Regions from separate parts of the Homo sapiens genome. Here region 1 is linked to region 2. The links are contacts of gene promoters, found by promoter capture Hi-C in human tissues and cell types (Jung and others, 2019). All regions are on one chromosome and are shown on one strand. Each heading gives the region's core, a stretch centred on a gene start or on the middle of the fragment in contact. The rest is flanking DNA. Distances are from core to core; before and after follow the strand shown.

Region 1 (5,836 bases), core at 1-2,500, 250 kb before region 2:
CATGGGTCTGTGAAGAGGAAGAAGTGTGAATCTGGCTTGACCTCTGAAGTCCTTGTTGAAGTAGCCTGGCTGGCAAAGGTTCTAAAGAAACTTTAGGGTTCTGAATGGAAGAACCAGCAATAAGGCCTGAAGAGATGCCAGTATGAGCTAAATCCTGGGGTTTCTTTGGTACTGGCCCTGTGTGACCAGCAATAAGACTTGAAGAATGTGTAGTCTGAGTAGAATCTAGTTTTTTGGGAGTAGCTAGTGGCAGCTTACTCATGATACTTGCTAATTTTTCTTCTCTCAGTCCTGGACGAGGCTTTGTGGTTGGCATGCTTATCCTTGAGCCAACTGGAGGGCCCTTGTTCCCATTGTTGATAACCGCTAAAGCTTCAGAAACAAGATCCAGTGAAGGTGAATGGAAAGAAAGGTCTTCATCTAGTGAGTCGTCGAGGCAGATGGTTTCTTGGGCTGGTGCAGAGCTAGAGCTAGCTGCAGCAATGGCAGCTGTGCTGGAGCTCGTTGGAGGACCGCTAACCGAAGCCACCAGGGATGTTGGAGTTTTCTGGTCCTTTTTTGGACTACACTCCTAATGTAAAGCATCATATGGAAAAAAATAGAAATGGTGAATAAAAAATTACAAAGTTAATTTTAAATAACTAAAAGATTCTCATGACAATTACAATTGTTTTTCTACTGGAAATCTTCAGAGACTATCAAAACAAAAATAATTTTTGAGATGACAGAGCTCCTGACTGAGCTGTCCTCACAAGACAAAGTATCTGATATATTGCACATAGCTGTCATACTTAACACCAAGTGGAAGGAACATTCATATACTAGTTACATTACTGATGAGCCTCCCCCACCTGCATTAGATCTTCAAATCCTGCTCCAAATCCATCTGTTCAGATTATTCTCTTTTTATTCCCCTGCACTCAGAATAAATTCTGCCTTTATATTAAGACTCTCCCCTTCTCGTCTGGGATGGTTTGCTAGGAGGCTGACCTTCACTTTCTGCTTCCATGCATTTCTGCCTCTTTGTATGCCCTGTCCTGCAGCTACCCTACAGCCAGTACATAGAAAAACTGGTACGTCAAAGTGGCAGACGATTCAATCCAAGCATAAATAAATTATGCTATTTATTATGGTGAATCTGTAATTTATTTGTAAATTACTCATTTGTCATTTATTCAATATATATCCACTAAGTGTCCGCTGTGAGCAGGGCTCTATGCTAAGAAAACAAGGGTATTAAGAATTACAACTCTGAATACCTAAGAGTTGTTAGAGTCTGTTTCTCAAATAATCAACCTTCTTAATATTTAAGAAAAAGAACTAGAGCACAGTTTATAATATTCAAAGAGCAAAATAATTTAAAAGCAACTATTTATTTTTAAAGATAAAAGTATTTGACTCATTTTATTTTTAAGACTGAGAAGCAAAAGCCTATTACATAAAAGTCGTATCAAAGTCTCTTCAATTAGTTTCTTAAACAAACCCAAACAAACCTAGAGTGTTATATTACATACTGATTGATACAACCATAGCACTTACCTTAAGCATAGTGGGGAAAGAATGGAGAGGAAGGGTCTTTACCATCACCTCCTAAGGTATTACATAAGCAAGCTGTTAAGAATACTGTTACACTCTAACTTCCTTAGTATTTTTTCTAAGCTTTTACTCTAAAACCCCTGATTAAAAACCTCACTACCAATTGGAAGTACAAGTGTAACTGCATTAAGGTCACAAATGTCTGCTAAGAAGAATGAGTAATGCAGATGAAACACATTTGTTTTGATATGCCATCCACTTACATGATTAGTGAAAATTCCATTATAAAAAGTACACAATAAAGGGTAGGAAATGTATCCCAATATTGGAAGTATTACTAGTATAAAACTGCTGTTTTAAAATAACTTTTTGATTAATTTTTATTTATAAAACCATTAAATCCACTCTAATAGAATACTGTGCAGATTTATACTGGCAGAGAAAATTGTTCAGGATATATAACTGAGTCAAAAAAGCAGGTTATCCCATTTATATAAAAGACTAAATAAATAGATAGCTGATTGGATAGATGGATGGATGTATGGATGGACGGACGAATGGAAGGGAGGGAGGGAGGAACAGAGTTTCAGAAGAAGGGAAGGAAGATGTGTCCTAGAAAGCTAAGAGCTTTTATTCTCTGACTGAGGAGAAATTTATAGATACTTTTACTTTCCTCCTTACTTTTCCGGGTTATTTGCATTTTCTTTTGTAGGCATTTCCTTATCTTATCTTTATAACTAGAAACACTATGGGGAGTTACAGTAGAAAAAAACCACATTAACAGTATAGCTTTTCCATTTTGGGAAAATGAAAAAGTAATTTAATCATAGAGAAGGAAACATACAAAAAAACTGATGACTCCCCCATATCATCCTAACACAACCAGTATCAGAATTTAATAAATTTCCTATCCTATTATTCTATTAATCATATGTTTGAATAGATGTATCAAAATGTAACCAATCCTTTATGGAGGGTACTAAGACTTTAGTATTCTAATAAAAATAAAGTCAAGTGTCAAAACAACATCTAAATTCAACAGATTTAATGAAAGATTGGCTCAATATTATTTGGATCAGAAGACAAAGTAGGCTATTAAGAAAAAGAGGACTACTGGCTGGGCATAGTGGCGCATGCCTGTAATCCCAACACTTTGGGAGGCCAAGGCGGGTGGATCACGAGGTCAGGAGTTAGAGAGCAGCCTGACCAACATGGTGAAACCCCGTCTCTGCTAAAAATATAAAAATTAGCCAGGCATGGTGGTGTGCGCCTGTAGTCCCAGCTACTCAGGAGGCTGAGGCAGGAGAATCGCTTGAACCTGTGAGGCAGAGGTTGCAGTGAGCCGAGATCGCACCACTGCACTCCAGCCTGGGTGATAGAGTGAGACTCTGTCTCCAAAAGAAAAACAAGAAAAAGAAAAAGAAGACTATTTACCCTGCATTTAAAGAGGCTCTAACACCAAAAAAGTCAGGAAGGCCACAGAATAATATATAATGACCATCTGGCCACAATCTTATAAGCAAAGAACCTCATCTATTAAAAACAACAACAACAACAAAAACCAAAGAGACAAAGGCTATGGAGCAAAGTGTAAAACCTAAAGAGTATGAGCTTTCATTAAAATTTTAATTTCAAATGATTATAGTTTTTACTTCTAGAGGTTATATTTTGATTCTCTTTCAAATCTACTTTGTCTATTTTGATAGGATATTTTTTATTCCCTTTTCTATTTCTCTAAATATTAAAAATTTTTCAGTCAAATTATTTTATGTACTAAATTCCATAAGTGCACTACTTGTCCGTCTTAGGGATCTAACTGCTGTTTATTGTTCCTACTGAATCTCACTCATAGTAACTTATTCTCTCATGTATTCTGTATTTCAGACTGCAAGCTCAGGTCTGCCATGGTTTATAGGAGGAATGCCTTTGAGGCCTCTGAAGAGGGCACGTTATACCAAAGAGAATTTGCTTTTGCCAGTGGCCCCGGGTCACTACTAATCCAGTAACCAAGCTACTTTTTCAGCTTGGCGTTTTCTCAGATTGTAGAGGTAGTGTAACTGAAACTCCTAAGCCAAGAAAATTTTTCAGCAAGGACATTCTTCCCCCAAACCAGAACCCAGTCCAAGACAGCCACTTAATGTCTCTGCTGGTTGCTGGATTTCTTTCTAGTCCTTTCTTTTACTAAAGATGTTATTGTTTGAAGGTCCAGCTTTACACAGATTTCATCCCAAGTTTTAACCTGTACAAGCCCAAGAAAACCCTAACTGCTATGCTCTGAGAAGAAACGTAAAAAGAAACCATAAAGTGATGGGTAGAAAGTGCCAAATGCCTCCAAGGGCAACCAAAGTGTAAGCGACAGATTAACACTGTCAGCTCCTTTTTTGTTTCTGGTCTTATGAATTTTTCTTACATATTTTTCAATCTCACCTATGCTATGAAAGAATATTTGTTGTATTTTACCTAGCATTTCCAAGTATTAATAAAGTTAAGCTTCACAATTGGTGTATGCATATTCCCCACTGCTACACAGGAATCTATTCTCCCAAATACAAAAGTACTAAGATTATTATGAAGTTGAAAACATCTATCTTATAGTGCCTACTGACCTCTGCTAAATACCATACATCTTTTTCATCTTAGGAATGTATTTCAACATTCACCAACTATAACTAATTAAATATTTTGTTTCAGTACTTACCTTTACTTTGGGTTTAGGTGCAGGAATCACCTTTTTCTTTGCCCTAAGATAAAAAGATTTTAAAAGGCTATTTCAGTAGCAGTTATATTGCTCATTAGAAAGTTATATAGCTTTGTAATTATGTGGTAAATAATTCCTTCTGCTATTTGGAAAGCTCTTTGAAGGAACCGTATTTAAGTGCTCAGTTTATACGAAGTATGTAGCAACATTTTCCCCAATTCAGATTAATTGAAAGGCCAAACAACTAGTAAAACATGAAATGTAGATAATACAATTTTTAAAAAATTAAATGTAAATAAACCATAAAATAGCCCCCCCAAAAAAAGAGCTTCAAGGAACCGCAGGCTCAAATTAAACCATGCCAAGAAGGTGTGAATGAGATTTAACTTAACCAAAACAAAAAAAACCCTGAGCTTTTAAAGAAAAATTTTTGTAATGTAAAAATTCAAATAAAAAATGTCAAAATGACAGGGAGAAAAAGGGCAAGAAAAATTACTATGGAATCTTGAAACTTTTGGAAAACTAAGAAAAAGTTTGAAGATGAAAAAAAAGAACAAGTTCCATAGTAAGTCAAAGTATTCAAATGTTTGTTGAATAATTAAATTGTTGACAAGCTAAAATACTTCACCTTGCCTATTTCACTTGGCTAAAATGTCATCAATTAGATTAACAAGAATCTTGATTAAAACTGTCAATTTACAACTTCATTTAGGCAACAGTAATTTTCTATGTTTTTTTTTTTTATGAAGGCCATTTAGGGAAACGACCTCTAGGCCCACTTATCCCATAGATTCCTACTTTCTGGTACAAAACAAAACACAAAGTTAAACAAAACACAAAGTTAATGATAATAATGAAGCTATTTAAAAAAAGGGAGAAGGAGGCTGGGTGCAGTGGCTCATGCCTGTAATGCTAGCACTTTGGGCTGAGGCAGGCGGATCACGTGAGGCCAGGAGTTTGAGACCAGCCTGGCCAACATGGTGAAACCCTGTCTCTACTAAAAATACAAACATTAGCCAGGCGTGGTGGCGCACGCCTGTAGTCCCAGCTACTCAGGAGGCTGAGGCAGGAGAATTGCCTGAACCTGGGAGATGGACGTTGCAGCGAGTTGAGATCGTGCCACTGAACTCCAGCCTGGGCGACAGAGCAAGACTCCATCTCAAAAAAAAAAAAAAAAAAGCCAGAGAGAGACAGAGAGGGAGACATCTTTTGTAAACACCTTTAGAATTAAAGGAATGCATTATTTGTACCTGAATTGTAATGTATATATGGCTTTAGAACTACAGTAGCCCCCCTTATCCACAGTTTTCAATTTCCACGGTTTCAGTTGCCTGTGGTCAACTGAGGTCTGAAAATATTAAATGGAAAATTCCAGAAATAGAGATAAACCACATTCACATAACTTTTATTATAGTATACTGTTAAACGGTTCTCTTTTATTATTGTTGTTAATCTCTTACTGTGCCTAATTTGTAAACTAAAATCTATTATAGGAATGTATGTATAGGAAAAAATAGTCTATGTAGGGTTCAGTACTGTCTGCAGTTTTGGCATCCACTGCAGGCATCTTGGAGTATATTGTCTGAGGATAAGGGGGACTAC
Region 2 (6,072 bases), core at 2,731-5,230:
AGCCTACAAACTTGTCTTTAGATGCTCTAATCCTTGTCTCCTTTCCTGTTGTGTGAATGGAAGAAGCATCTCCCCTCCTGTCGGAGGTTAGTTCCTCTGACGTCTCCCATTCTATCTCACTGCCTATGGACATCCCCCGCTGATTACAATTCCCCTTTCCTTTATATTCTTTCTTTTTTTCTTCTCTCTCTCCTTCCTTTTCTTTCCTTTCCCTTCCTTCCTACCTTTTTCTGTCGCCCAGGCTGGAGTGCAGTAGCACGATCTTGGCTCACTGCAGCCTCTGACCTCTTAGACTCAAGCAATCCTCCCACCTCAGCCTCCTGAGTAGCTGAGACTACAGGCACATGCCACCATGCCTAGCTAATTTTTGCATTTTTAGTAGAGACAGGGTTCTACCATGTTGCCCAGGCTGATCTCAAACTCCTGGACTCAAGTGATTCTCCTGCCTCAGCCTCCCAAAATGCTGGGACTGCAGGCATGAGTCACCGCACCTGGCCTCCTTTATTTTCAACTTTCCATTCTTACTAGCTCTTTCTTTTCTCTTTGTTTTGTTTTTGAGACGGAGTTTCACTCTGTTCTCCAGGCTGGAGTACAGTGGCACGATCTTGGCTCACTGCAAGCTCCGCCTCCTGGGTTCACTCCATTCTCCTGTCTCTGCCTCCCGGGTAGCTGGGACTACAGGCGCCCGCCACCACGCCTGGCTAATTTTTTGTACTTTTAGTAGAGATGGGGTTTCACCATGTTAGCCAGGATGGTCTCGAACTCCTGACCTCGTGGTCTGCCCGCCTCGGCCTCCCAAAGTGCTGGGATTACAGGCGTGAGCCACCGCGCCCGGTCTTACTGGCTCTTTCTACTCAGCATGTAACTATGCTTGTCTCTCCTATAATAAAATACCTTTCTCAGTCTTGTGTCTTCCTCTTATTATCATTACCTTACTTACTTTTAGAAGTAAAGTCCTCGGTTTTTCTATTCTTCTTTTTTTAACCTACAGAAATCTACCTTTTCTCATTATTCCTCTGAAATAAACCTGCCTAGGTTATCACTGTCTACAAGCTTTCCCTTGTAGGAAAGCTCCTCCCTGTAGTATCTCACCATGCTGATCACTTTCTCCTTGAAACTCTCTCCTCTGCGTGTCCATGAATGACTCTCATTTTTCTCTAACCTCTCCTTATCAGTTTATATGTTAGGCTATGTTCTCTCAGGAGCAATCTGACAAGGATTGAATGCACACAGTTTACTTGGGAGGTGATCCTAAGAAACACTGGCAGGGGAATGGGGAGGTAGGGCAAGGAAAGGAAGGAAGACTGTATGGGGAGTGCTAATGAGCAGGTGTGGCTGTGGGCAACTGGGGTTCAGTTCCATTGAGGAAACATTGGGAGACCATGGAATGTACACCTCCAAGTGGTTCCACACGAGGAATGAGTTGGGCTGTTTGATCCATTGTTGGGGAGGAAAAACTTTTCCTGCACTCTCTTATGTTCAGTTCTGAGGGGCTGCAAATTTAACTGACAAGAGAAAAAACATATATGCATATGGCACTGCACAAAAGAAGTGATGATGATTTATTTACCTAACTTAATAGGGGAGAGAGGGGGGCAAAAAGGCTCCTATGGGAAGAACAAAGGGGTTTCTAGGGAACAAACAGGAGATAAGGAAGTTTGTGTTCATAGGGAAGTTGTTTATGCAGGTGCACGTGGTTTTCTATTTCATGTCCATAAACCCCTGGAGAGGGGATGAATGGCAACCTCACTCCCAGAAGATTCTGCTTTTACTGAAATAAAGGAAGCTTCAAGAAGGCTTCTTTTTGCCTCTATTGAATCTTACATGTCTTTAGTTTAAAATAATCCTCATGCCAATTTTAGGGTTGAGAGTGCATCCTCAAACCACCAATTCCCCAACATCCCTGGATGAAGGCTCTTCCTGGAGGTGTTGGCTCCTTGGTAATTCCAGCCTGCCTTTCCTGCTGGCTGCTTCCTCCTTCTGTTGGAAAAAGCTTAGGCAGAGAGTTCAGGAACAAATGCTGAGTGCCAAGGGGACGTAGGCTACTGCCTATTTTTCTCTTCCCCCACTTGCTTATTTAATGTGGGTATTCGCCAAGCTTCTTTCCCCCCGTCCCCCACCTTTTCACACTCTTCATTTTTGCCAGGTGATCTTATCAACTCTCAGTTACCTAATGCTCTGATGTCACGCAAATCTACATCCCTTCCCTTCTCATGTCCCTCAAGGTCTAGACCTGTATACAGAATACACCTGCCTGTTGAGCGTCTTACCTTGGGTTGTCCACTGCAAACTCTCAACATAAATAACACTGGGGTTATAGTCCCTCAAATCCTGTTTATTTTCTGTTATTCCCCACCTCGTCTTGCTTTTCTAGAAATCCATTCTTCTCATTGCTGCCAGGGGTCTTTCTAAAACACCTATCCTACAATATGGCCAGGTACTATTTTAGGTGGTAGGGATACAGCAATGAACAAAACAAGGTTCCTGCTTTCATGAGCCTGAATTCTATAGCTAAATATATAAATACACAATAAAGAAGAAAAATATCAGTGGTAAGTTCCATGCAGACTGGGGAGCTACTTTAGATTTGAGAGGTCAGGAAAGGTTTTGCTGAAGAGAAGACATTAAAGCTCAGAGCTGAATGACACACCTTGAGTGGCACTCAGGAGACATCCACACTTCCCAGATGAAAATCCTTTAGTGACTTCCCAAAGTTCTCGGGATATAAGTCCAAATTTCACAGCATGGCAGAGAAGGTCTTCTGGCATCTGGCCAGTTGTCTTCCTCTCTAGCTTCTTTACATTACATGACATTAATGCATTTAATCCTCACGAGCACCTTGCAAAATAGCAGCTAGGCTGGCTGAGTTCTCTGATGGTCTGATTCATCTTTGTACTGTCACTGCGTTAGTAGTTGGCTCAACAAACGTTCATGAAACAAGCAAGGTGTTGGACAAAAAGCATGGATGCTTAAGGCAGGTCTAGACTGGTGCTGCTCAACAAAAATAAGGTAATCCACATTTGCAATGTAAAATTTCCTCATAGCTACATTAGGAAAGTAGAAGCAACACATGAAGTTGTCATAACATTTTATTTATCCAAATATATCCAAAATATTATGTTTAACATGTGATTCATATAAAGTTAGTGAGATATTTTACATTCTTTTTCTCATTCTCAGTCCTCAAAATCTAGTGTGTGTATTTCACACTTATATCACATCTCAATTCGGACTAGCCACTTTCCAATAAAGCTCAGCAGGCCCCGCGGGGTGGCTCACGCCTGTAATTCCAGTGCTCTGGGAGGCTGAGGCAGGTGGATCGCTTGAGGAGTTCGAGACCAGCCTGGGCAACATGAGGAGACCCCGTTTCTACAAAGCAAAACAAAAACCAAAAAAATTAGTGATGCGAACCTTCGGTCTCAGCTACTCAGGAGGCTGAGGTGGGAGGATCGCTTGAGCCCAGGAGTTCCAGGCTGCAGCGAACTACGATAGCGCCACTGCACTCCAGCCTGGGCGATAACGTGAGGCCTTGTCTCCAAAAATAAAAATACAACAACAACAAAAAATCCCAGAAGTGCTCAGCAGCCACATGTGGCTAGTGGCCACCTCCCGCGAAGCAGCCCGGCCACTCACCTCCTACCACCTTTTACCTATTTCTCCTTCTCCGCAGGCCTCCCTAGCACTACCAGTTGTCTTGTTGGCGAGTCCTTTGTGACTCCCACTATACAAGCCCCTCAAGGCCAGGCTTCGCCCTGAACGGTGCCTGGGCGGAGCAGACGCTCCATCAACGCTGTCCCCGCCTGAGTCCACGTCCAGGGGATCCGCAGGCGCCGTACCCTGCTTCCACGCGCCGGGGCCGCCCCTCGCCCGGCCTCCCGCAGGCCCACCCCTCGCCAGGCCCAGGCCCATCCCCGGGCTGTTCGCTGGAAATCGTGGACGTGACTGGGAGGAGCCTGCCCGCCCCGGCTCGCTGCGCCGCGCGCACAGGGCCCGCGCCAGCGACCATGGCGGAGCCCACAGTGTGCTCCTTCCTCACCAAGGTGCTGTGCGCCCACGGCGGCCGCATGTTCCTGAAGGACCTGCGCGGCCACGTGGAGCTGTCGGAGGCCAGGCTCCGGGACGTGCTGCAGCGCGCCGGGCCCGAGCGTTTCCTGCTGCAGGAGGTGGAGACGCAGGAGGGCCTCGGGGACGCGGAGGCCGAGGCGGCGGCCGGCGCGGTGGGCGGTGGCGGCACCTCCGCCTGGAGGGTGGTGGCCGTGTCCTCTGTGCGCCTCTGCGCCCGCTACCAGCGCGGCGAGTGCCAGGCCTGCGACCAGCTGCACTTCTGCCGCCGGCACATGCTGGGCAAGTGCCCCAACCGGGACTGCTGGTGAGAAGGCGGCGGCGGGCGGGGACTGTGGGCGCTGGCCGCGGGCCTGGCCGTCCTGCTGGAAGCGGGAGCGACGGGAAGGGGGGCTTCGTCCTGCCCCGGGCCGGGGACGCGGGGCTGGACGACCCCCTCCCGCAGGCCTTTCCTGGGCGTCCTCCCCCGCGCTTCCAGCAGCTGGGCGGAAAGGCGCGAAGGTCCTCTCCATGGAGACGTCTCAACCGCCCACGCCAGAAAAGTTGCTGCCCCCGCCCGCCCCCCCGGATCCTGCGCGACGCGGCCGGGTTAAATCCGGACTGGGACTTCGGAGCTCACTTATTCTGGTGATATTTGGCGGGAGGTGGGGGGCGTGGGGCGTCTGAGGATCCCATGAGATCCCTGGACCCTTTAGCCGGAAATCGCTGCTCCCCCATATCCACACACTTGTGCAGAAGCGGGTCTGCGCCCTCTAGGTTTAACAGCGCTGAGCCAGTCTCACCCCAGGAAACAGGGCTGGATGGCTTGGGTGAGGCCCTGTGGTTCCTGACTGCCAGAGCTGGGGTTCGGGGCTGCCTCCTGACCCCAGGCTGTGCTTCACAGCCCCGAATTTTCCTTGGTTGTCTCTAGCCACACACCCCGCCAAAGCGGTGCTGGGGATAGGGGCGCTTTCTTTTTAACGTTGGTGGACTGTGGCAGCTGTTGCCGGGGAGAAGGCCAGGTGCAGTCGCCTACGGAACAGATGTGCATCCTCAGGCGAGGTGGGCGACCCTTGGCTTCAAAGCATCCCTACTGAAAATTCAAATGACCCTGGGAGAGGAGTTCCTTCAACCCAATTTTCTTATTTTCCATCAGTGCTTATTAGGCCATACTATCCCCGGTTTCATGAAAATTACTCAACTTCACATGTATTAAATACATTGAAAGCTGCTCAAGGCAAGGAATTGGACAGACTGGTCCTTCTTCACCTGGGCATCTGACCGAGGGCTTTGTTCTTTTAGGTCTACCTGTACCCTTTCCCATGATATCCACACACCTGTCAACATGCAGGTCCTGAAAAGCCATGGACTTTTTGGTCTCAATGAAAACCAGCTTCGGATCCTGCTTTTGCAGAATGACCCCTGTCTTTTACCAGAGGTGAGTCACCAAGGAGTCACCCTCATGTCACATTTGCTACAAGTACTTTCCCCATTTATTTTTCTTTTGGCTTTACATATTAATTTTAATTGCCTTCGAAGCAACATGATTCAGTTTCAAATGCTTTAAAGGTACCCTTTATAATTGCTATCATGGCGAAATAGTACGTTTGTTTCAGTTTAGCCATACACAAAGAAGTTTTAAAAACAAAATAGTACAAATCCCAAGAGAAAATTGGAACATCAATTAAGACCACCAATTAAAAGCAAGATTTTCTAATCTAGCACAGTGATGCTATCATAGACACCTCCACTTGGCCAGAAGAGGGATGGGAAGAAGGGGAGATGTTGAGAAAACAGAGGATAGTTCATAATTGTGGCCTGATTTTAACTCTAATGCATTTCAGCGTCTAGAAAGGAAGATAGCCACAAGACTAGAGGTAGGAGCTGGAGCCTTTGGTGCAGGTGGCAGAGGCTGCTCTCAAGGCAGCAGAATCTGTACCCAGAAGGCAGTCCTGGAGTTGATCTCAGGAACAAGCAGGTTTCTTCCTGACATGCATAACCTGTTTCATTTCTTCGAGCACTGAAGCCAAG

What was found. Contacts are between HindIII fragments. The study calls those that stand out against the background at their distance.
Region 1: a fragment that was not itself captured here is called in contact with the fragment with the promoter of ZC3HAV1L in region 2 in 1 of the 25 tissues and cell types used here (mesenchymal stem cells).

Annotation. Positions count from the first base shown.
Region 1 is chr7:139,277,759-139,283,594 of GRCh38, reverse strand. It overlaps UBN2 (ubinuclein 2), which reads right to left. Exons shown (of 18, transcript NM_173569.4): 13 at 4,235-4,277; 14 at 1,540-1,590; 15 at 1-571. Among named protein-coding and RNA genes, the nearest start is that of UBN2, 49 kb to the right of the region's middle. The HindIII fragment of the contact is 3,186 bases long and covers 1-2,843 here.
Region 2 is chr7:139,033,950-139,040,021 of GRCh38, reverse strand. It overlaps ZC3HAV1L (ZC3HAV1 like), which reads left to right and starts at 3,980. Exons shown (of 5, transcript NM_080660.4): 1 at 3,980-4,369; 2 at 5,344-5,479. The coding sequence starts at 4,005. LOC107986852 (a long non-coding RNA gene) reads right to left here and starts at 3,839. Exons shown (of 2, transcript XR_007060557.1): 1 at 3,651-3,839; 2 at 3,072-3,369. RefSeq lists silencers at 3,688-3,897, 4,148-4,667 and an enhancer at 3,654-4,573. The HindIII fragment of the contact is 9,430 bases long and covers 1,421-6,072 here.